7 separate regions of the Homo sapiens genome follow, and all the other regions are linked to region 1. The links are contacts of gene promoters, found by promoter capture Hi-C in blood cells and fetal thymus (Javierre and others, 2016). All regions are on one chromosome and are shown on one strand. The core of a region is centred on a gene start or on the middle of the fragment in contact, and the rest is flanking DNA. Distances in the headings are between cores, read along the strand shown. Region 1 holds the start of ARL5B (ARF like GTPase 5B). Region 2 overlaps LOC105376449 (a long non-coding RNA gene). Region 3 overlaps PIP4K2A (phosphatidylinositol-5-phosphate 4-kinase type 2 alpha). Region 4 overlaps PIP4K2A (phosphatidylinositol-5-phosphate 4-kinase type 2 alpha). Region 5 overlaps ARMC3 (armadillo repeat containing 3). Region 6 overlaps SUV39H2 (SUV39H2 histone lysine methyltransferase). Region 7 has its middle 6.0 kb from the start of PIP4K2A.

Region 1 (3,308 bases), core at 368-2,867:
GCGAAACCCTGTCTCTACTAAAGATACAAAAATAGGCCGGGCGTGGTGGCGGGTGCCTGTAAATACCAGTTACTCGGGAGGCTGAGGAACAAGAATCGCTTGAACCCAGGATGCAGAGGTTGCAGTGAGCTGAGATTGCGCCACTGCACTGAAGCCTGGGCGACAGAGAAAGACTCTGCCTCAAAAAATAAATAAATAAAAATAATATTTTAAATGTATGGATAATACCCACAAAGTGTGAAGCTCTGCTCACTTTGAAATCATTTGATAAGTAATATTATCTGTGGTTACTGGATACAGGCATATACATATATATACACATGTGTGTGCCTGTATCTATATTTATAACCTTGAAAAAGACTGCTTTAGTGTTCTTATCAATCTACAGAACAAGTCAACTAAAGCCATTCCATTACCTCCACAACTTCTTAAATCCAGAAAAAGATTAGATACCTACATTAGCAGTAACAAATTGGTACCAACATAAAAGGAAATAAAACTGGCTTATTAACGATGCCCGGCTCTTAAATGTAAAATGAAACGAGTTGATTTTCAAAACTGGTTTCAATTACTAAGAAACCATTCTGTTCAAAGGACGCCTCAAACTTTAACTTATCGTCGGCCCCTTTTTTGGTCTGGGTGTTTTCTCTCTTCAGAAGACATCACATCTCATTCTGATTCAGAACAGGTTTTGCAACTTCTCGGCCCTTTGGACCTGCCACTTCCAGGTGTCTCATTACCTGTTACAGACTAATTACGGACACGTAACGTCTTACACAAAACCGAAAAGCATTTAGTTTCTGAACTAAATGCTTTAAAAAAAAAAGTTTACAATGAAGATGCTGGAAAACTCGTGCATCTGAATAGGACAACTCATTCCCAAGTCCTAGAGGAAAGGAGGCGAAATCAGAGTGAAAGTGCACTGGCTTACGGCTCAAACTGCAGGGCGGGAAAACAAAGCACCTACATTACTCAAAAAAAAAAAAGTTCTAGGTTTCTGGGCGGACACTTATCCTGGGGATACACATAGACACAAGCACGCTTCAATAAAGACGAGAAAGGCCCTCCATACGCCTCCTGGCATCATTAGCTGTATCCCGCTTTACTTCGCCAATATCCAAACATTCTCAGTTTGGATTCTGGGACGCCAAATACCTTCTCTTCTGCCTCCCTATTTCTCCCACACGTCAGGTCTCTCCTGTACGTCCTCCAGGTCTAAAACACTGAGTTTCTGCCCGCCCCCTGGCCTAAGTCCCTTCCTCCTCCGCGTCTCCGAACGCTCTGTCCCCTGTCTCCGGTGTCCCCATCGGCGGCGGGACCCTCTGCCTCGGATTCGAGCCGCCGCGCAGCTCCATTCTTCTCACCTTGGTTACAGAAGAGGCTCCACAGTTTGGCGAAGATCAGCCCCATCACGAGCACCGGGGCGGGCCGCGGGGTCCCTCGGCAGCAGGTGCCGCTGCGCCGGGTCCCCCACCGCGGCGCGGGCTGCGCGGAGCCGAGGAGAACCCGCCTGAGATCGCGCAGCGAGGGCACTGCTAGGCCGAGAAGCCTCGACCCGACCACTCAGAAGGCGCCGCGACGAATCCCCACCGGACAGCCCTTTGTTTCGAGCCCACTGAGCCCAACGCCGACCCGTAGTCCCCTCGGTCTGTACCCACCTACCTACCACAGCCTCTCCACAGCCCCAAGCCCCGCCTCCACCCCGCCTCCCCTCCGGATCCCAGGACCACCCATCGCCGGAAGCTAGGCGCGTGACGACGGCGCACTTACGGCAACCCACGCCTTCGACGTGGCGTTTTCTTCGGTTTCACTTCCGGTAGGAGAGTCCCAAACGGCCAGCGGCTGGGAATTTGCGGTATCGCGGGGGGGTGGGAAATTTCCCTTGGTGCGTGCTCCTTCTGATGTCAGCCTTCAAAACGTTTGTGGGACTCCCCTTTGATTTGAGTCTCTGCTGCTAGCAGCTGCTTCCCTGACCTCTAAAACCAGGAAAGACCATAGGTTCTCTAAGTGAGCAGCCGCCGTTTGCTGCTCTTAGAAAACTCACAGAAGTGAAGAGTGTTTCTTTCCTGACTTATTCCTGTTCCCCTAGGCAGGCGTGCTAGGGGTTAGGAGTTCTGCCGTGATTCTTCTTCATTCATTTATTAATCTATTCATTCACGTATTCATTCATTGGCTTATGCATTTATGTACTCATTGATTGATTGATCGATTGCAGACGAGGTCGGGCTGTGTTGCCCAGGGGGACTCAATTTCCTGGGCTCAAGCGATCTTCCTGCCTCGACTTCCCAAAGTGGTGGGATTGCAGGCTCAGCCACCGCGCCCGGCCCCTGTCGTGATTCTTAGTTCTGAAAAGAATTGATTGGGAGACGAGCCATGGAAGGCCTGGAGCCACAGAGTTCAGTTATGTGATTAATAATAACACATAATAATAACACATAGCACCCCTCTCCATTTTGCCAAGCATTAGGTATGTTCGTGGATCCCAGATCGAAGTCCACGCATAAGCCAATTCGCTGTGTAATTGTTTTCAATTCCACTTTCCATGGTTAGGTTCTAGCATTGAAAAGAAAAGCTTCACAGCCTGGCATGAAACGAAACTGAATGTCCTTGAAACCAGTTGACGGAGGAGCAAGCTTAAAATTTTTTTAGACTCTGACTTCAGTCAGATGGTTGGATTTTAACCTTGGCAACGTGGCCTTTTAACATGCCAAACTCTTGAGTTAACCTGTACAAGGAGAATGTATGACTTACGTCCTCCCAGTGCTATGGTTTAAAGACCCTTTAAGACTTAGATGCAGGATAATATGCTCCAACGTTACAACATTAAAGGCAAGTTTCAACCTCCTATGTAGAGGAAAAAGAATGTACTGACCCTATGCAAACTTAACTTTCATGACTATCAGTTGGACCATAAATGTGAATAATTTTGTGTTTGTGTAAGTAATGGCTTAAAAGGACATTTTTAGTCCTAGCTTCATTATCACAAAACAAACTTTAGATTCCGTAACAGCTTCTTCAATTGTTAGACATGGATGTAAACCACATTCTGCTTTTTTTTTTTTTTTCTGGCTTTCGGATTTCTAAGAAACCATTTCTGAAAAGAACAAAGCATTTTTGTATGAAGATGCAGACATTTGGCTGGGCGCTGGGGCTCATGCTTGTAATCCCAGCACTTTGGGAGGCTGAGGCGGGTGGATCACGAAGTCAAGAGATGGAGACCATCCTGGCCAACATGGTGAAACCCTGTCTCTACTAAAAATACAAAAATTAGCCGGGTGTGGTGGCACGCGCCTGTAATCCTAGCTACT
Region 2 (3,302 bases), core at 800-3,299, 3.8 Mb before region 1:
TCTTACTCTATAGAGCACATTACAAAAGCTAGCAATAATTCTCACCTTACATGCCTGAAAGGTGGGTTTATTAATTTAGTAAAACCTAAGTAAATAATAACATTTCAATCATTCCATAACCCTCCTTGTCTTTTCCCATCAACACACTCCTAGGACACCGAAGATGGCACTGCCAGCCAAGATGTGTGGCATAGGTGCTCTTGTTTTCCCATGGTTTTCTATTTCTAAACATTGTTCCATTCACCTTTATTATAGACACTGACTCATGGAATAGTTACAGGAACGTGTCCATAGTCTCTCAGAACTAGGAACAGAGCACAGAAATCTCTGTTCTTGACTGTTTGTACTGACCCCTGGAAATTCTATGTGTTTCAGTGGGACACAGACCAGGGCATCCTTTTCCCTGATCCTGTTGAGGATGTGGAAGGAGTGACAGGAAGACTGTGGTCAGGAGTCTGGATTCCAGTCCTGCTTTTATCACCAACTAGTATCCTTTGGCAAGGTCTGCTTTCTGATCCTCACTTTCCTTATCTATATAATGAAGACATTGGATCACAGGATCATTTAAGGTCCCTTCAGATCTAACTTTTTATATGTGATAGATCATTTCTGATGGTGGTCATGAGAATCCTTCCTACCTCCTATTTTGTACCTTTTTTTAAAGGTACACTTTACCTAAAAGCTACAATAAAATGCATACATTTTGACAAATGTATACACTTGTATGTATACTGCCACAATCAAGGTACAAAACACTTCCATCATGCCAAAAAGCTCCCTCATGCCCTTTTGCTGGCAATCCCCATCCTCTAGCCTCAGGCCACCAGTGATCTGCTTTCTGTCACTATAGATTAGTTTGCCTTATCTAGAATTTCATATAACTAGCATAATATATATGCTCTTTTGTGTCTGGCTTCTTTCACTCAGCCTAACCACATTCTTTTTGTAATGTGCCTGTACCATCCTCCCATCAAGAGTAGAATCTGTTTTCCAGCTCCTTGAATCCAGAATGGCCCTCTGACTTGCTTTGACCAACAGAATACAATGAAAGTAATGCTGTGTGATTACTTCTACCCCTTGGTAAACCACTGCCATGTAAAAATGCCTGAGGTAGACTACTGAATTACTGAAGACCATGTGGAGTGAGAGGGAGGTACATGGAGGAGGACCAAGTTCCAGACTTGTGGATTAGGCCAACTTGGATCCTCCAGCCCCTTAAGATACCCCTAATCAAGACCACGTGGAGCAGAAAAGAGCCATCCTCCCTGACCCCCGCCTGTATTCCTAACCCAAAGAATTGTGAGTGAATAAAATGCTCTTGGTTTAAGCCACTAAATTTTTGGGTGGCTTGTAACAACCAAAACTAAAATGATGAGTCTTCTGCCCTGTCTTCCTTAAGGTCCAACAGAATCTCTTTCGGGCCCTAAGACTATTAGCTAACTATACAGGTGTTTTCCCTGAAATTTTTTCTACTTCTCTCTCTTTCCTTTTCATATTCTTCCTCCCTCGGGTGTCATAAATTGCATCTGAATTCTTGTAACTCTGTTTCATGAACTTGAAAACTGCAGTGTGTTTTTCTTCCATTTCACTTTACAGGGTTAAAGAGTATCAAATCTTTTCTCTCTTCCCTTCAGATCCAGTGTTCTGGCATTTGAATTACAGCATGTTCTAGAGAAAAATAGAGTGTGGGAGCCAAGAACCCTCATTTTATACCTAATGAGCTGTAAGGTTCTGGGCAAGTTTGAAAGCTTCCTACACCTGACTTTCTTCATGTAATCTCATGAGCTGGTGGAGAGAGCATAAACTGCAAAAACAGATGAGAAAGTCAGTCAAAAGCAAAGTACTCTTTATTTCCACAACTCGGACAAGTTTTCTGCAATGATATTTGCGTGCCCTCCGTGTGTCAAGTTCTCTGTCACAGGCTTGAACATGCAAGGTAAGGTTTGCCTATCACCAAGAAAACAAGATAAACACTATTTCTGCCTTATGGGCTTTTGCTGGAAGTGAGATCTCTCTCTTCCACTCTCTCTCTTGCTCTCTCTATGTGTGTGTGTGTGTGTGTGTGTTTTATGTTGCTGTTCTCCACAAACGTTTTGTTGTGGGCTACTGTAAGACTCGTTATGGTCAGGCAAAATCTGGATGAAACATTCTCATGGAAGGGTGAAAGGTGAGGTTTATATGAAAAAAAAATGCACAGGGCCTAAGACTTCTAGAAACTACCCCTAACAATAAAGGAATTATGGTAGTCCTCTTTTCCCAAATACAATTTTAAACGTAAAAATCACACTAAACCATAAAGGTAAAGAAGCTCGTTTCTAATTCGCACCTTGATAATTACTTCAAAGCTTTGTTTGAAATATCAAAATCTTTCTAATTTTTTTCTCTCATTTTTTTCTTGCATGTCTTTGTTTCTGTTGGTGTCTTGGAACAGAGAATCTCAAAAAATGATCCCTGAACCAGCAGCATCAGCATCACCTGTGAACTTGTTTGAAATGCTAATATGGGGGCTCTACCCCAAATCTACTGAATCATTAACTCAGCGGGTAGGGTCTAGCAATCTGTGTTTTAACAAGCCTTTCAGGTGATTCTGAAACACTTAAGTTTGACAATTACTGCCGAGGACAGATACTTGGGCTGCCTGTTGCAGTTTATCAAACTGGCTGTTCATTAGAATCTCCTGGGAAGCCTTATAAAATTATCAGTGCTGGGACTCCAATGCCGTAGATTCTAATTTATTTGGTCAGGGGTAGGCCAGGAAACCAGTATTTTTAAAGTCTCCTAAGTGATTCTAGTATGTCTACCAGCATTGAGTATCACTAGCATTTTAGGTAATCTGGCTTTGACTCCTAGGCTTGAGCAACTTGGGGGACAGAAGGGAGGAGCTCAGCATGCTTCCTCGGTTTAGGATGAAGAGGATAGGCAGGGAAGTAAGGATAGTTCAGAAGAATGTTTAAACAAGTCTGAAATAAGATACATTTAAATGTGAAATGTGGAAGGGGAAGAATTATAATTAAGCCATAGTCTTCAGGGAACATTTGAGGCAGTGAGCATTTTAGGCTGAGTAACAGGAAATAAGTTTAGAGAAAACCGGTGAAAGAGAGTCAGAGATAATACAACTGAGATAAATTAGGCTTGAATATTCCTTATGGGGCTGTGCTGTGCACTACAATCCCATAAGCTAACATTATTTACTCTTAAAAAAAATCCTGGGAAAGAACACCTCTATTTTTTAAAAAAATATGTTTAATTTTGCTATTCTCCACATTATTTTTTGTTGTATATTACTATAAAATTGGTTATGG
Region 3 (3,421 bases), core at 122-2,621, 4.0 Mb before region 1:
GTTGCCCAGGCTGGTCTCAAACTCCTGGCCCCAGGTGGTCCTCCCTCCTTGGCCTTCTAAAGTAGGGATTATAGGTGTGAGCCACCCTCCTGGTGCACTGTTTTTTCAGTCCACTCATTTCTGTCCCCTGCATTTTCCTTGGGTAAAGCCCCAGGCCCACTTTTGCCGTAGCCTTCTTTGATTTGCTTTAATTTGAACTTTCACAGGTAAAACCTTTCATAGGTTTCAAAGCAGTCGCACACATCTCATTTGCTGCCTTGAGATATAGCTGGATGATGCCATCATCCCTATTAAAATATGTGAGGGGAGGGCTCAGAGGTGTTAACTGCCCAGAATTATACAACCCTGGTCTCCCAACTCCAGCTTGCAGGGCTTCCCCACCATGACCAGCAGCTGGACCAGACCCTTTCTTGGGAATGCACACTTGACTACCCCTGAATCACTTTAAAACTCACCTGTCTCTGAAGACATTGTTTCTCAGCGACAGCTTCACTAGCACTGTTTGGTCTTATTAACCCCTTTCCCTTCTGTTGCCCTTTTGATCCTGAAATCTTAGCCCATGTTAAGAACGCCTTTCACAGATGTCGTTGTTACTAAGATTCTCCAATTTTTAGCTTTTTGTACTTACGATTTGGATCATTTGCCCACTCTGAGTATCTATTTTTACACGTCTTTTTTTTCTCCACACATGGTAAATTCTTGGAAAGTGAGAGCTGTGTTTTTCATTTCCTTAATAGTGGATATTTCTGCTAGGGGGAAGTTTAATCTGAGTGAGTGTCCAGCTCACCTTGAGGAAATAAAATAATTCAACCTTGAATATTTTCATAGCATTTTTAAAAATTATGAGATTAAATTTTCCTGAAAAATTTACGGAAACATGTGTTTTTCAAAATTAAGTTGGAAATATTAATGGCCTTGGGCATCTGCGGCCAGCAAAGTCATTGCCATTCCAGAACCCCTCACTGCAGGGTTTCCTTTCGTCCATTTATTAAATCTAAGCCCCATAGTGAGGAGAGACACTGCTGCACTCACCAAAAAACCACTGTTTATAAAATGCTTGGGCACTTCAGAGACAGCAGCTGTTTTCTCTTGGTATTAACACCGATCTGCAGATTGCCAGTTCTTCAGAATACAGACCTTTCCCAAATCTCCACTAATTTTGTTTATTTATTTATTTATTTTGAGATGGAGTCTCACTCTGTTGCCCAGGCTGGAGTGCAGTGGCGCAATCTTGGCTCACTGCAACCTCCGCCTTCTGGATTCATGCGATTCTCCTGCCTCAGCCTCCGAGTAGCTGGGATTACAGTAGAGACAGGATTTCGCCATGCCGGCCAGGCTGGTCTCGAACTCCTGGCCTCAAGTGATCCACCCACCTCAGCCTCCCGAAGTGCTGGGATTACAGGGGTGAGCCACCATGCCCGATCCCAAATCTCCACTAACTTTAGGTGCGTAGGATGGACTGAGCAATTTTGGAAATTCCAAAGCACCAGGGCCCTACCTCCTTTCTTCTGTCTGCCTCCCCTGCCTTCCCAGTGTGCATCTGCTGAATTGAATCATTAAGAGAAAGATTAAGATGAGTGGAAGGTGAGCCTGTTGTTGCTGACAGTTCACTTTCCCCAGTGAAACTGTCAGGAAGACAAAGAGATGTTGAAGTTTTAGAGTAAGTGGCCCAGGGTCTTACGGTATCCTGCAGTGTGACACTGGGTAGAAAGAGGTGGAGGAGAAGGAAGGAAGTGGCCTGGCTTGGCTGTCATGCACTGCCTTCCTTCATTTCCTTACCTCCCACGTACTGCCCCCCACCTGAGGCAAGAGGGGAGGAGTTTTCACCTTTTCCATATCTTCTTCTTTATTCTTTGAAACTATTTTTCTTCTTAGAGTTGTCTTTGGTAGAGTGGCCCTTAACTTAGTGTACAGTATGATTCATACCCCCGGGGGTGGTCCTTTCTCATAAACCCTTCTTTCTTTTTTTTGAGATACTCTGTTGCCCAGACCGGAGTGCAGCAGCACCATCATAGCTCACTGCAACCTCAAACTTACGGGCTCGAGCCATCCTCCCACATCAGCCTCCTGAGCAGCTCAGACTGAAGGTGTGTACCACCACTCTCAGCTTATTTTTGTGGTTTTGTGGAGATGGGGGTCTCATTATGTTACTCAGGCTGGTCTCAAACTACTGGGCTCGAGTGATCCTCAAGCCTCAGCCTCCCAAAGCTCTGGGCTTGTAGGCGTGAGCCACTGCGATGGACCCTTCATAAACGTTTCAAGCAGCATTGAACCAGAACAAGGAGCAGCGTTTTCAGTTGGGAATTCATTGTGTATTTTTCATTAAGAACATAACATTTCTTAACTTAGATGTTTGTGTAACCTGAGTTGCAAGATGAATTTACCACACAGTGACAGACTTTAAATTTTTGGTTTTAATACACATTTGCGTATTTTAAAAGCAAATGTACCTTCAGCCTGTGAAATAATATGCTAGATAATTACAGGTACTTTGACTTCAGTTATGTCTTAGATTTATTATAACTACAGTGTTGATTACTACGAAGACATTGCTTTGCAGAGGGAGATGTCTCAAAATGTCACAATTCAGTGTTTTATTATCAGACAGTTGCTAAAGTGGATAGTTAAAAATTGAGGCCTGGCATGGTGGCTCACACTTGTAATCCCTGTACTTTGGGAGGATGAGGCAGGCGGATCACTTGAGGTCAGGAGTTCAATACCAGCCTGGGCAACATGGTGAAACCCTGTCTCTACTAAAAATACCAAAAAAATAGGCATGGTGGTGCGCACCTGTAGTCCCAGCTACTCGGGAGACTGAGGCAGGAGAATCGCTTGGCTTGAACCTAGGAGGCAGAGGTTGCAGTGAGCCAAGACCATGCCGCTGCACTCCAGCCTGGGTGACAGAGTAAGAGTCTGTCTCAAAAAAAAAAAAATTTGTGTGCAGTTTTTCAGTTATTTCATGACTATTAGTGGTTATTCAACACAAATTAAGCACTGTATCAGTTACAGGGCTCAGTTAAATAATACAGAATCTACAGGAGCTGATTTAGATAGCAAGGCATTAAATGTACTAGTGAGTATTAATAGTGGCTCAGTCTCTGCAAATGCTGAAAAAGCAGCTCTGGATAGTGCTAGCAGGTGGGGAATCATTATTTTATATCCAGATCACTAGTAGCAAGGAAATCTGAGAAATTAATTTTCAGTTCCCCAGCCAAAGCAGCACAGGAAGTCACACAAGCAGTGAGGGGTCGCCCACGCATCTGTCCTTGGCACCCTGCAGCCACTGAGCTGCCTCCCGGGCACCAGCACAGACCTCAGTAGTCGTGGCCTTGCTCTCACCGGTTCCACTGTCCGGGAGACAGATGTCAGATACATCATACAAATACCAATGATGACAACTGCATAAGGCTAAAAGACAGGT
Region 4 (3,267 bases), core at 108-2,607, 3.9 Mb before region 1:
TGTGGATATTTACAGTATTAAAAATTAATATAAGAAATATTAGAATATGTAGTTTCTTTAAAAATGAGAAAAACATTACATGTTAACATTTTTATGAAAAATAACTATTTTCCAAAAGCAAAAACATGAATGAGACAAGTAGCATTGTTTTACATTTTTGCAAATCTCCGTAATGTCTTGACTTAATGTGAGATAGTTGGAATGTCCTGTCTGATTCCGCTGTCAGTCTGTGTGGTGTTATGCCGCTGAAGTATGTGAAGAAAATCTGAACTCACACAATAATGAAGTTTGGAAAGTTGTTAAAGCATGTTTTAACAACTTTTTTGGATAATTGTAGATATTCTTCTTTGATACTACACCAAAGCTTGACAAGAGGTAATTTCTCAAAGCTTAGTTACATTATGAAATCTGAAATCATATCAATGAACTTTTTGTACTCTTCATCGAAATCCATTGATTGGTTTGCATGCATTGTTTGAATGTGTGATTTTGCCAAGGCATGCACTTGCCATTTGGAACACATTGGTTCACTGAGTTATTTGACTCTTCCAAATATTGACACATTTCATTATACAGTATCAAAAAGTCATAACAGTGTTACCACCAATGTCATCAGAAAAGTCTTTTACATATTGGGAAGCGGTCAGGCCCAGGATGGTGGATATAAGTTTTTTAAAAATCAGTTTTTTACTTGGAATCTCAAATTTTATCACTGGCCACAAGCCCTGTCAGTTGTTTTCTGTGAAATGACCACATGTAGCAAGCACCCCAGCATACAGGGGAGCCTAGCAGCTTCATTCATTTTGTAGCAAACATCAGTCACATGCCCAGATCTAAATAAACATAGACTGTCAGTTGTTCTTTCAAGTAAAAGTGTTGTTTCATGAAAAAGATGGCCAGTTCAACTCATAACTCAAACCGTCACGAAAACAGTTCTTAAGAAATCATTCCTTCTTTATAAACAGAAGTGCTTTATGTATATTTCCTGCACAGAATATTGAAAAGACGTGTACTCCTGGGTCTAGATTTGATACATTTAATGTTATGCTTTCATGTGTTTACTAGATGCCTACTTGTATGACACACCATCTTAGCCAGAAGTTCAGCAACTCGTACACAGCTCACAAGTCACAAAAACCAGGATGTGTGGCTTCAGAGGTTTCTGAAATGACGCTGGGTTTCTTAGATGGTGCTGGTTTTTTTCATTGTTTTTTTTTTTTAAATCACAAACACTACTAATACCCACTGTTGCCACTGTTTGACTTATGCTAAACTGCTAGCAGTTCTTCCCACCATTGTTTTTGCATTATTTATACAAATATCAAGACGCTGAAAAAGGCAAATAATTTCTCAGTATTATTATAAAAATAGTTTTGGCTTTGTATAGTTTTGGTCTTGGGACCCCAGGGTTCTGAACCATGCTTAGAGAAATGCTAGTCTAAGTGAAGGAAATGGTCTGGGCTTGTCTCCTAACCTCTGAAGTCCCCACACACTGGATCCACTTCCCAAATACACCCTTGTCCTGTCCTGTCTTAAAGTCTTCGCCCAAGCAAGCCATTTTGTGCCCCTGGAATTGCCCCTGGGGAAATCCCAGCCATCCTCCAGGGCCCTTGCCAGCACCAGCTCTTTTCGTGAAGCCTTGGCGGTACTGCTCAGAGCACACAGGACTCTGTCTGACTTCCCCAGGGAAGAAAGCCAGAGTGACCTCTAAAGTCACATGTTGTTCTTTTATGACTTGTTAACCTTGTGTAAGTTGCTGAACCTCTATGACCCTCCGTCTCTTCATCTGTTAAAATAGGGATAATTTTACCTACATTTGCAGGGATGTTTTGAGAATTAAATAAGATACATATGTATTGTGTCCAGCGTGAGGCATGGCATATGGGAGTTAATGAATCTTGGTTGCCTCATTCATTCTCCTGATGTGTAAGTGCCTCAAGGGCAAGTATGTTCTTCTACTTAACTTTTTTTTTTTTAATCCCCCTGCAATGCCTAAGATAGCGCCTCGGACAAGTAGGCATCTGGTAAACATATCTTGGAGTAAATTATACTTAGAGATTGGATATTCTAGTTTTAATTTGCCTTGCTTTTTTCACAGTTTCATCTCCCTTTCTGGCTTGTGGCATAGATAAACTCTGTTCTTGCCAGTGCTCTCAGTTGTGATGGAACCTGTACATCTGGCATTGTTTCATGGCTTAAACTCTTGGCCTTCCTTTTCTATTTTTTTTAATAATTTTTTATTGTGAATTAATTTAAACTTGGATGAGTTTTGTGTTTTGTTGTTCCCAAGCTAATGATCAGCATTTGCATACAGATGAAGCTTCCCTGAGAATCAGAAGCAGGGTGGATTATATTGTAGGAGAGGAAACACACACACAGACACAGACAGACACACACACACACAGACACACACACCCCAAGAACTTGGTTAAGAATTCAAAGTAGAATAGTTTCTTCCTGTTCCCAGCATCATAGGCAGTGCTCAAGTATTACAAATGTCCCATTTTTAAAAAGTATTTGGGAACATTCGTTGTGAAAAATCAGTGTGTAAAGGAAGGTACTTCTGGTCCATATTCAGGAATCCCTAAAGGAAGGAAAGTAGACCATGGCAAGTAACAGTTGCTGGGCATGGCTGTGCAGAGGGGCTCGGACTGTGGTCGTAGAATGGGTTCTCAGGTTTGCCTTCATGAATGGTTCACATTATCTGTCTCCATCTGATGGGTCAGCTTTGGGCTGCTCTGAATCGCCCTGAGAAACATTGAACATTTTCCCTGGGCCAGCAGCAGCGTCCCTCGGATCTTCCAGTCCTGGGGGCACTGAGCACCAGGGGGATGGAAGATCGGCCCTGGGGAGACCCCCCCAGCCTGGTCTTGGCTCCCTTCCCCAATGTGAGGAGTCTCTTCCGTTCAAGTTTCCGCATCTGTGAATTGCAGGAAGCTCAATCCTAGTCAATGCCTGAGCTGCTCGATGAAAGCCAGTAATCAAAAATTTTGATTTCTTTGCAGATGGCCAATCTAAAAGCCACTTTCACTTTTCCCAAGCCAACTGTAAGTTCATTTAATGAATGGCTAACTCAAGTAACCCAGGGCAATAGATGTCTTTTCATCAGGTGGTAAAGAAGCAAGTGGCTTGGCTGACCTCACGATAGTTAGGGGTGTCCAGTGCAGGAGGGGAAGGGAGCCCAGGAAATTGGCCTGTGATTCTTCTCCAGCCATTTATGCAGTAAACACAGGACATCTGCTGTGTATGAGACACCGTGATTGTCAT
Region 5 (3,371 bases), core at 815-3,314, 4.3 Mb before region 1:
GATCTGGGGGCTCCCTGCAGGTCCTTCCCTCAAAGGGTTGGCCCAATATGCTAATGTAGTTAAGAGACTAAAATACTTGCTGCATAAGACTGAAATGGAAAATAATGATAAATCAACCTATCTATAGATAATATAAAATGATGGTGCATACTTTTAAAATAGCTTTCGTAATACTTATCAACACATTTCAAGGAGGGTATAATAAACAAGAGGAAGTCCTGAAGAGGTAAGAAAATGATCCCAGGATGGCCTGGGGACATGCGTGGAGAGAGACTAAACAAGATCTGAATTCTTCGGTCTGAAAAAGTGATGTTTGAAGGGAACATAATACAATCACAGATGACATATATGAAGTAAATACAGTTAGTCATTAGATTCTAACATAAAGACAGGAGACACAACTTGAAACTGGAATGTAGTTATTTTAGAACTAACAAAAGGAAGTAGAATCAGAAAACATTAAGTGCCAGAAAGGATTTAAAGACTATCTGCTTGAATTCCTTTCTATTACAAATAACCAATTTCAACAAATGATGCTAGGAAAAATTTATGTCTACATGAAAAAGAACGAACTGGGACCATAATTTTATACCCTATATAAAAATAAACTCAAAATGGATCAAGACCTAAATATAAGAGCTACAGCTACAAAACTCCTAGAAGAAAACATAGGGCAAAAGCTTTGATATTTGGTAATGAGTTATTGGATATGACACCAACAGCAAACAGCATAGCCAACAAAATAGATAAATTGGAATGCACCACAATTTAAAACTTTTTGCATCAAAGCACACAATCAACAGAGTAAAAAGGCAAACCACAGAATGGGAGAAACTGTTTTCAAATAATATCTGATAAGGGGTTAATATCCAGAATATATAAAGAACTTCTGTAACTTAGCATCAAGAAAACAACCCAATCAAAAAATGGGAGAAGGACTTGAATAGATGTCTCCAAAGAAGATATGCAAGTGGCCAGTAAGTACACGATAAAGATGCTTGAAGTTGCTAATCATTAGGGCATGCAAATAAAAAGTACAATGAGATAGCACCTCACGCCCATTAGGATGGCTACTATCAACAAACAGAAAATAGCAAGTGTGGGCCAGGATGTGGAGAAATTGGAACTCTTGTGCATTGGTTATGGGAATGTAAAATGGTACAGCTGCTACAGAAAACAATATGGCAGTTTCTCAAAAAAATTAAAAATAGAGGACGGGCATGGTGGCTCACACCTGTAATCCCAGCACTTTGAGAGGCTGAGTTGGGAAGATTGCCTGAGGTCAGGAGTTCAAGACCAGCTTGGCTAACATGGTGAAATCATGTCTCTACTACAAATACAAAAATTAGCTGGGTGTGGTGGTGCGTGCCTGTAGTCCCAGCTACTCAGGAGGCTGAGGCAGGAGAATCGCTGGAAGCCAGGAGGTGGAGGTTGCAGTGAGCTGAGATCACACCACTGCACTCCAGCCTGGGTGATGGAGCGAGACTGTCTCAAAAAAAAAAAAAAAAAAACTAAAAATATAATTACCATATGATTCAGTAACTCCACTTCTAGGTATATATCCAAAATAATTGAAATCAGGGACTCAAAGAGATATCTGTATACCCACATTCTTAGCAACATTATTCACATTAACCAAAAGGCAGATGTAACCAACTGTCCATCCATGGTTGAAAGGATAAACAAAATGTGGTCTATACAGGCAATGGATATTCTTTGGCCCTAAGAAGGGAGGAAATTGTGACACATGCTACAACATGAATGAAACTTAAGGACATCGTGCCAAGTGCTATGCATTTGCAAAAGGACAAATGCTGTATGATTCCATATATATGAGGGATCTAGAGTCATCAAATTCATAGAGACAAAGAATAGTGGTTGCCAGGAGTTTGTATGAGGAAGGAGTGGGAATGATTGTTTAATTGGTATACTTTTAGTTTTGCTAAATGAAAAGATTTCTGTGGATGGACAGCACCACAAAAATGTGAATACATTTAATGCCACTGAAATGTACACTTAAAAATGATGAAGACGGTAAATTTCATAGTATTTGTATTTCACCACAATTTAAAAAGCAAGAATAGGATTGATTCCTTTTCTTCAAGCAAAACCGCTCCCCTTCTTGAGTTCTTCAGTTCTGTGAGTGGCACCATTTTACTTCTAGCTGTCTAAGCCAGAAACCTGGCCTCATCCTTGGTATCGCCTTCTTCCTCTTTCAACCAACATAGTCATTCAAAAATACTCACACATGTGCTGGTGGTTCTCCTTGCAAAGTGCCTTGAGCCAGTCCTGAACACCGCATCTCTGTTTCAGGGCACCTTCACATCTCACCTAGATTACTACAGCAACCCCCTTTTGGTCTTCTGTGTCTGGTCCTAAACATTTCCAATCTCTTCTCCACTTTGCAACACGAGTTCTCTTTCTTTAACAAGTGAAAATCCATGATGTTCCCTCCCTTCTGAGTAACTTCAATGGCTCTTTGTTGCCATTAAAATAAAGTCCAAAATCCTTAACTGGGCTTATAATGTCCATGAGCACTGGGCTCCTCACCACGTCCATAGCCTGAGCGCTCAGTGTTCTGTGGCTTTCTGGTCATTGGCCATTCTGAAAACTTTCGGTTCTGGAACTTACCATGTTATCCCTCCTCTGGCTTTTATACACCCTGTTCCTTCTCAGAACCACTTCTCCTCCTCCATCCCATCTGAACCTTCTTTGACCAGACAATTTATCTTATTTACTCTAGGTCCTAGCTTGTTAATCACTGATTTCAGAAATATTTTTCTGATCCAGGTCTGTGCTGGGAGCCTTCCTGGGTGATCCTGTGTTTCCATCATTAATCACTTTGAACACTGCATTGTAAGTGCCTGTTTACTTTCCTGTTCTGGGTGAGAACTCAGTAAGAAATCATGAGTAAACGAATATATACATTGTTCTGGAGAAGTTATAGTTCACTCAAAATCACTTAAGTAGGTCGTTACAATGCCAGTAGTGGAACTAGTACTAGAACTCTAGTACCAGGAACTCTGCAGCATACTTTCCAGTACTGTGGCACATGATGGGTAGGCATCATCAAACTCACCACCTCAAAATGAGTGAGAACAGTCTTAGAATGACCCAGCCACATTTGATACATATAAATACTCTCCAAAGAGATGCTGAGATACGCAAACATTTCAGGTTTGGCATTGTCCGTGTCTCCCCATTTTACTTCTCTTCGGGTCTCACTTAGCTAAGAAGAACTAGGATAGAAGGAAGAGAGAACTGACCAGCTAGAATAATGTCTAAGTTCCATTTGATAGAATACTGGGTAAACCAACTTTTGCCAATATGAAGAAACCTTGATTTCACAACCAGTCTCTCAAATAGGCATT
Region 6 (3,179 bases), core at 300-2,799, 3.8 Mb after region 1:
GATCAAAAAATCTTTTGAGAACAACTCTGCCGTTTTTTAAGAGCAATAAAGGAAGGCTTAGAGAAGTGAAACGAGTTTGCTTAAGTCCTAAGGTACTAAACAAAAGCTGGAAATGACTTTGCAATCCAGGCCATTCTATTATAACCTAGAACCTGACTAAATCTGGAGTGTGACAAGATGGCAGGAAATGCAAATGGTGATGTTCTTGAGAGTCAGTAACACTAAAATTGGTTTGAAACGGTAGGTTCATTTCAGGTGATAGTGGGGAAATACGATCCACGAACAAAACGAAAGACAATTGGAGATCAAACATTTGCTCTGGTAACCCACACGGAGATAATCAAGAGTTGGATGTAGAGGGATATGAGCACCTGAAAATATTCTAATGCAAGAACACTTTATGCTTCAAAATCCTCTCAATGCTATTTGGCAACACAGATGATAGGACATATAAATTTATCATGCCTTAGAATTTTAAACATTAAGAAGAGCTTTTCTTTTAATGTTCTTTTTATGTTACAGAAATACGAAATACTGAAGTCTGATTAGGTCTCTTGTAAGGGGCTAGATATTTGCCTTACCTTTACTACCTTGTAGTCACACAAGTATTCCACCTCATAATTGTTTAGATTCCTTTTGGTGATTCCAATCGATTTACATGTGAGCTTTTCTTTTCTACATAATTCCTGAAGAGTATCAAGTGAAACTAGGCAAGGCACACACCAAGCTACAATAAGAAAATAGAATTCTTTACTAATGAAATAGCTATTCAATTAAAACAAAAAAGAGAAACTTAAAACCTCTATTCCCCATCTTTCAACTGGCAATTTTAGACTAAAAATTCCTATGACAAGAAACCAGTTACATGTCTTCAAGAAAAAGTTAAACATTAAGGAACTATTTTGTTAAATTGGTGTTCTTGGATTTTCTCATGGATTTCTATTCCACTACGTTTAACTGACATCAGTTAATTTCCATTAAGTCACTTGAAAATGTTTCATGTCTGTAAGCTTTTTTAAGATTATATACAGATGCAGGTCAACAGAGATAATGTTTTTCACTTTCATTGTATTCTACATAGACTACAATCACTATTTTAATAAAATGTAAATCTCTAGGACACTTATTCTTAAAAACATATCTAAAATATACTTTAAAACAATCTTATAATTTGTTAACACGTAACTTTCATTTTTTTTAACTGGACAAAACGAACTGAAATCTAATTAAAATATATTTCTACGGTTACAAACTCATTATATGTTAGTTTTCTCTTTGATATGTTGCATGAAGCTTTAATTCCACTTATTATTCTACCCATACTGCAATATATTATCACCAAGGTGAATAAACTCCAGTTATTAAAAAAATGGAGTATATCGATATTTTGTAATACTTATGGACTGTACTGTTTTTAAAGCCAAACTTTTAAAACGGTGTTCAATTTACATAAGCCATGTACTAAACTCAAAGAAAATTAGACATACTCATCATCAACCCTCCAGAAACCAGAAACTAATTGCGTTCCAGAAGATTTCACCCTCAAATTTCTGTAAGCAGCATGTTACCACACTGAATTTAAAGTGTAAATTAACACGTTTAGGAAAATGGAACAAACTTGTTGTTAGGGCTAGTGTCATGGTAAGCACTTGACAAAATCAAAAGTCCTCTGCACTACCCATCGCTCGGTCACCGAGCTATGTGACTTTAGTGAGGTCTCAATCTTTTTGGCTGTCAGATTCACTGGAAAAAAATGGAGAAAACTGGTGTTACCAAACAAAATCTATCAGTAAACTCAAGCTTTACTTGGTAGCTCTCCAAGGTAGTTGCGATCACCTTTTGCGTTTTGAGGTAATTTCAGGGAAGGGAGAACACTTGTTAGTGGCAATAACTTTTCCGGCCCCTTTCCTCATCCTCCCCACCTCACACAGAAACTTCATTGTCAGAAACCCTTAAGCATAATTTCTACCATCTCACTGGCTGCAAACGATTCCATCCTAAAGCAGTAAAGACAAAGGTATTTTCCTCCAGAAAACGTGGGGGAAGAGGCTGATTGGCTTTGTAGTGGTCGTTTGGGGGTAGGACAGTGATGGGAAAGAAATGACCCCCTAAGTCCCTTCCATCTACAAAAACTAGAGAACGTTTTGTGTTAAGCTGACCTCATTAAGGGAATCACGTATAAAGGAGGTTCCTCTTATCTACTCAAGGTGTGTTTGTGTGCTTTTCCTAAACATTTTTATCTAGTTGAGGATTCAAAACACAACCCGCAAAGGAAATGCTCTTTGAAAATTAAAAAAAAAAAAAAAGTGAACATGAAAAACTGCAAACACGTGGTTAAAAAAAGAAAGACAATCTCTCGACAGTCTCCAGTAATGCAGAAAAAGATTTCACTGACAAAATTAAATAGTTCATGACCACCACAAACACCTTCCGCTGGTTCACAGTAACCCCTGACATTCTCCAAGGAGAAAAATTCAGGGATAATGAGGTCATAATCCCAGCGGAGAGGAGACGAGCTTGAAAACACCTTTACATTCCGGAACGCACGGAAAAGTTCCAGGCTCTCAAAGCGTGCGCGACACCAACACCCCCCGACGCCCACACCCACGCGCGCTCGGTGCCCAGTTCCCCGGTGCCCAATTCCCCAGCGTCCACAGAAATAACACCAAGCTCCCGGTGGGTGAAAGAGTTACCGTAAGCCAGAGGCTGCAACCTCAAATACCCACTTTCTGGGCGATTCTCCAACGAGGCACTCAACCTCCTAGCGTGTCCGCCTTGGGGGGGATTCCTCGCTTATCCCCTTTCTTAGCACACAGGCGCCCCGATTTACTCTCCCCCTCTGATATTAAGGTCATGTTCACGCCGGCGGGCGTCGCTTCCCGCCTCCCACTTCAAAGGCCCGGGCGCATGCCGCACGCCGCGCTCGAACCACCACAAAGGAGCCAGTCGCAGCCGTGCCCCCCGGACCTCCAACCGGGGACTGCCGGGGAGCGGCCTCGAAGCCCGAGGCCGCCACGGGAGACGCGGAGGGGGCCGGGCCGAGCGGGCGGAGAGGCCACGCTCCACTTCCGAAGTGCCCCAGGCTCGGACAGTGCCCACCTCCGCGGCGGGAGCCGGCCGGGCAGGGAGGCGGGTCAGCGGCCTGGGGGAGGATAGGCGTCCGCAGCGTGCGTCCCGGA
Region 7 (3,114 bases), core at 48-2,547, 4.1 Mb before region 1:
GATTACAGGCATGAATCACCACGTCCAGCCAAACATTTAATTTTTGATTGACTATTTACTATCTTTTTTATCAATCATTATGCATACTTGTAACATAAGAAAAGCTAACTCACAAATTCTTTATATACGTAATGACTTTTTAAATACTAAATTTAAATTTAATAAATGGCAACATTTAGTCAAATGTTATTATTGATATCACTTTTGCAGTTTTCTTTTGTAATCAAAATTTTTGTTTTCACATCTCAAATTTTTTCTAGGTCCCCGAAAAACGCATAGGCTGTATGCATTGGGAAGATGATGCCCAATGGGTAAACAATTTGTAAACTTGCATAAGGACTCTTTGCGAACACAGGAGGTTCCCTTTTTCCTACATATAGGAAAATGTTCACCACAGGCTTAGTTCGCCATTGCCTAAATCATACAACGACTATTATAAATAGCAAGGAGCAAGTGAAAATGCTGGTCTCTTATTGGAATTGGGTTAGTATGTTAAATGACATTACTGTGTTACTTATTTAACTAGGAAAGATAGTTGCATTAAAAAAATTATAAAAGTAACACGTATGCATCTTATAACATTTGGAAAATGCAGAAATATATTTTAAAAATCATCCATAATCCTAACTGCACCCCTGATATAGCACTGTCAAAAGTATGCTCTGTTTTCTTTCAGTGTTTTACATGCACACACATTTTATAATACACTTTTTACTTTTTAAAAATTTTTAATTTTTATTTTGTAAAGATAGGGCCTTGCTGTGTTGCCCAGGCTGGTCTTGAACTCCTGGCCTCAAGAGAGCCTTCCACCATGGCCCCCTAAAGTGCAGAGATTATAGGTGTTAGTGCTATTTGGAAGCTTTGTGCTTTTTAAAAAAAGCTTTGTGCTATTAAAACCATAGCATATATATGATATGTATCCTATTTTTTCACTTATATTAATATCATGATTATTTTATGTCATTACATTTTCTGTGAAAATATCATGTTTATTGGATGCATTATATCCTGCCATGTGATCTCCCAATGTTGAAATTTCCATTTCTATAATAAAGAAAACTTTCATATATATATAAAGATATATATGATCAAGATATAATGTCCTTCACACAGCTTCCTGTCTTCCAGCGGGGGAGGCTAGCTCAAGTTCTCATGTTGCTGCTTGGGGAGTGGAGAAGGTGGGGTGGTCTGGGGAATGGTTAGTCTGCGCATTACCTGCTTTTTACTCCATCTTCTCCCAGTCCAATCTCCCCAAGTCAGGCTAACCAGACAGGAGTCAACTAACTGGTAGATTCCTGGAATGGCTGCCACTGTCCAGGAAGTCCCAGCCAGCTACAGAAGCCAGAAGAATCACCATCGATATTTAAATTGGAGTGGAAAACCCCAACTGGCTGGCACCAAACCACAGCCAGTCCAGGAAGTTTAGCCAGACCCCTGGAACTCCCAGAAAGCAAGCTGTGCTGCATCATGTCAATAGCTTATCCCCCCAAAAGTAACTCACTTGTCACAGTTGAATTTTTAGAGCCCATTTATTGCATTTGTAGCTTACTTATTGCCTTTTGGCTAGATTTGACAGCTTATGCACTTTAAGAATGGTCTTCCAACATAATAATTTTGCATGGCAAAGCTCAAGGTGACATTGTAGAAGGATGAATGGAATTGTCTCACATCTTGCTCTGATCTTTTCATAAAGCAAGGAAAAGCACAAAGCTTCCAAATAGCACTAAGTCAAAAAAGCTACCACTTCCCTTTTCTCAAGGAAGAATTGGAATTATTCGATTGATAGTATTTTTTTATTAAAAAGGGTAATATAAAAAATCAGAGCATCTACCCTATTCGACCTCTACTTCTGGTCTTGTATACCTTAGGCAACATAATATTTACACCATGTAGTTTTATACTAAATAAAGTTATTTATACTAAATAAAGATACTAAATAAAGTTGATTATAGTAAATGTAAGCAAAAACAAAACCACAACAACAAGAAGCATAAACAAGTCAGTATTGGGGGCTGGGCACAGTGGTTCACGCCTATAATCCCATCACTTCGGGAGGCGAAGGACGGGGATCACTTGAGGCCAAGAGTTCCAGACCAGCCTGGGCAACACAGTGAGACCTTGTCTCTACAAAAAAATACAAAAATTAGCTGGGCATGGTGGTGTGCACCTGTAGTCCCAGCTATTAGGGAGGTGGGAGGCAAGAGGATCACTTGAGCCCAGGAGGTTGAGGTTGCCATGAGCCATGATTATGCCACTGCACTCCAGCCTGGGGCACAGAGTGAGACCCTATCTCAGAAATAAATAAATAAATAAATAAATAAATAAATAAATAAATAAAACCAAGTCAGTATTGGGAACGTTTTAAATCTTCTTGACATGTCCTTCTTTCTTCTTAGTGAACTTGGCTGCTGGAGCCTTTCTTCCATTTGTGATGGCTTTGCCATCTGGATGTGTAACATCCCACCAGGCCAAATGCAAAAGGATGTGGCTGTTGAGGAGGGCATGGCATTCTTCTTGACTGACACAACCACATGCTCTTCTTGAAGTCACACTCCCTTGATCTTCCTCCTAGAGAAGGAAGATCTATGCCTCTCTTCCAGACCTTTGGCGAATGTTGATGGTTTGGCAGCTTGACAAGGTAAGCAGCTTGAACCAGGTGGGCTGAACCAAGAACAAGCAGGACATACACTTTGTCTCATTAGCATGCAAACCCCAAAGGAAAACAGCGATCAAATTGCTAGGTGGCTAAGTCCGCATGTAGTATCTAGCCCTCGAGTTTAAATATTATGTCTAGCCTAATTTCCTAACAAAGTATTTCTGAATGGAACCTTGCACAAAACATTTTCTGGCTACGCAAACTTTACATGTAACTTTGTTATGAGAGATAAAATATTCCTTTTTTCTTTATTCACCAAAATTTCACCACGGGTGCTATGGGAAAGGGAGTATTCAGGGTTCACTGAGACGCCCTAGAAGTGGGTACACCATGGTCCTTGCCTTCAAAGTTTCTTATTGCCCAAGAAATTACTTATTACATTTCTCTAGATATCAATTGTCTATCGAATGCATACAATTTGAGAATTGGATTACACATTTTGAGGTCACTTTGTTCTT

The links. Contacts are between HindIII fragments. The CHiCAGO score rates a contact against its expected background, and 5 or more counts as called.
Region 2: a fragment that was not itself captured here is called in contact with the fragment with the promoter of ARL5B in region 1 in 2 of 17 cell types (activated CD4 T cells and naive CD8 T cells); the score reaches 6.5 in activated CD4 T cells.
Region 3: a fragment that was not itself captured here is called in contact with the fragment with the promoter of ARL5B in region 1 in 2 of 17 cell types (activated CD4 T cells and total B cells); the score reaches 8.6 in activated CD4 T cells.
Region 4: a contact is called between a fragment that was not itself captured here and the fragment with the promoter of ARL5B in region 1, in 2 of 17 cell types (naive CD8 T cells and neutrophils). The highest score is 8.6, in naive CD8 T cells.
Region 5: a fragment that was not itself captured here is called in contact with the fragment with the promoter of ARL5B in region 1 in 1 of 17 cell types (neutrophils); the score reaches 6.7 in neutrophils.
Region 6: a contact is called between a fragment that was not itself captured here and the fragment with the promoter of ARL5B in region 1, in 1 of 17 cell types (erythroblasts). The highest score is 5.7, in erythroblasts.
Region 7: a contact is called between a fragment that was not itself captured here and the fragment with the promoter of ARL5B in region 1, in 1 of 17 cell types (total B cells). The highest score is 7.8, in total B cells.

The regions. Positions count from the first base shown.
Region 1 is chr10:18,657,740-18,661,047 of GRCh38, reverse strand. ARL5B (ARF like GTPase 5B) reads right to left here and starts at 1,617. Exons shown (of 6, transcript NM_178815.5): 1 at 1,365-1,617. The coding sequence starts at 1,410. It also overlaps a transcript of NSUN6 not described here. RefSeq lists a silencer at 1,449-1,528 and enhancers at 1,839-1,968, 2,669-2,788. The HindIII fragment of the contact is 6,724 bases long and covers 1-2,574 here.
Region 2 is chr10:22,439,827-22,443,128 of GRCh38, reverse strand. All of the region lies in intron 1 of LOC105376449 (a long non-coding RNA gene), which reads right to left. Among named protein-coding and RNA genes, the nearest start is that of LINC03027, 3.5 kb to the right of the region's middle. The HindIII fragment of the contact is 597 bases long and covers 1,751-2,347 here.
Region 3 is chr10:22,651,635-22,655,055 of GRCh38, reverse strand. The region is part of intron 1 of PIP4K2A (phosphatidylinositol-5-phosphate 4-kinase type 2 alpha); the gene reads left to right. Among named protein-coding and RNA genes, the nearest start is that of PIP4K2A, 61 kb to the left of the region's middle. The HindIII fragment of the contact is 9,843 bases long and covers 1-3,421 here.
Region 4 is chr10:22,568,793-22,572,059 of GRCh38, reverse strand. All of the region lies in intron 5 of PIP4K2A (phosphatidylinositol-5-phosphate 4-kinase type 2 alpha), which reads left to right. Among named protein-coding and RNA genes, the nearest start is that of LINC03027, 130 kb to the right of the region's middle. The HindIII fragment of the contact is 1,931 bases long and covers 392-2,322 here.
Region 5 is chr10:22,969,582-22,972,952 of GRCh38, reverse strand. The region is part of intron 8 of ARMC3 (armadillo repeat containing 3); the gene reads right to left. Among named protein-coding and RNA genes, the nearest start is that of ARMC3, 43 kb to the right of the region's middle. The HindIII fragment of the contact is 2,764 bases long and covers 683-3,371 here.
Region 6 is chr10:14,879,048-14,882,226 of GRCh38, reverse strand. SUV39H2 (SUV39H2 histone lysine methyltransferase) reads right to left here. Exons shown (of 6, transcript NM_001193424.2): 2 at 582-727. Among named protein-coding and RNA genes, the nearest start is that of SUV39H2, 1.8 kb to the right of the region's middle. RefSeq lists a silencer at 2,888-3,179. The HindIII fragment of the contact is 507 bases long and covers 1,296-1,802 here.
Region 7 is chr10:22,719,023-22,722,136 of GRCh38, reverse strand. No RefSeq gene overlaps it. Among named protein-coding and RNA genes, the nearest start is that of PIP4K2A, 6.0 kb to the right of the region's middle. The HindIII fragment of the contact is 830 bases long and covers 883-1,712 here.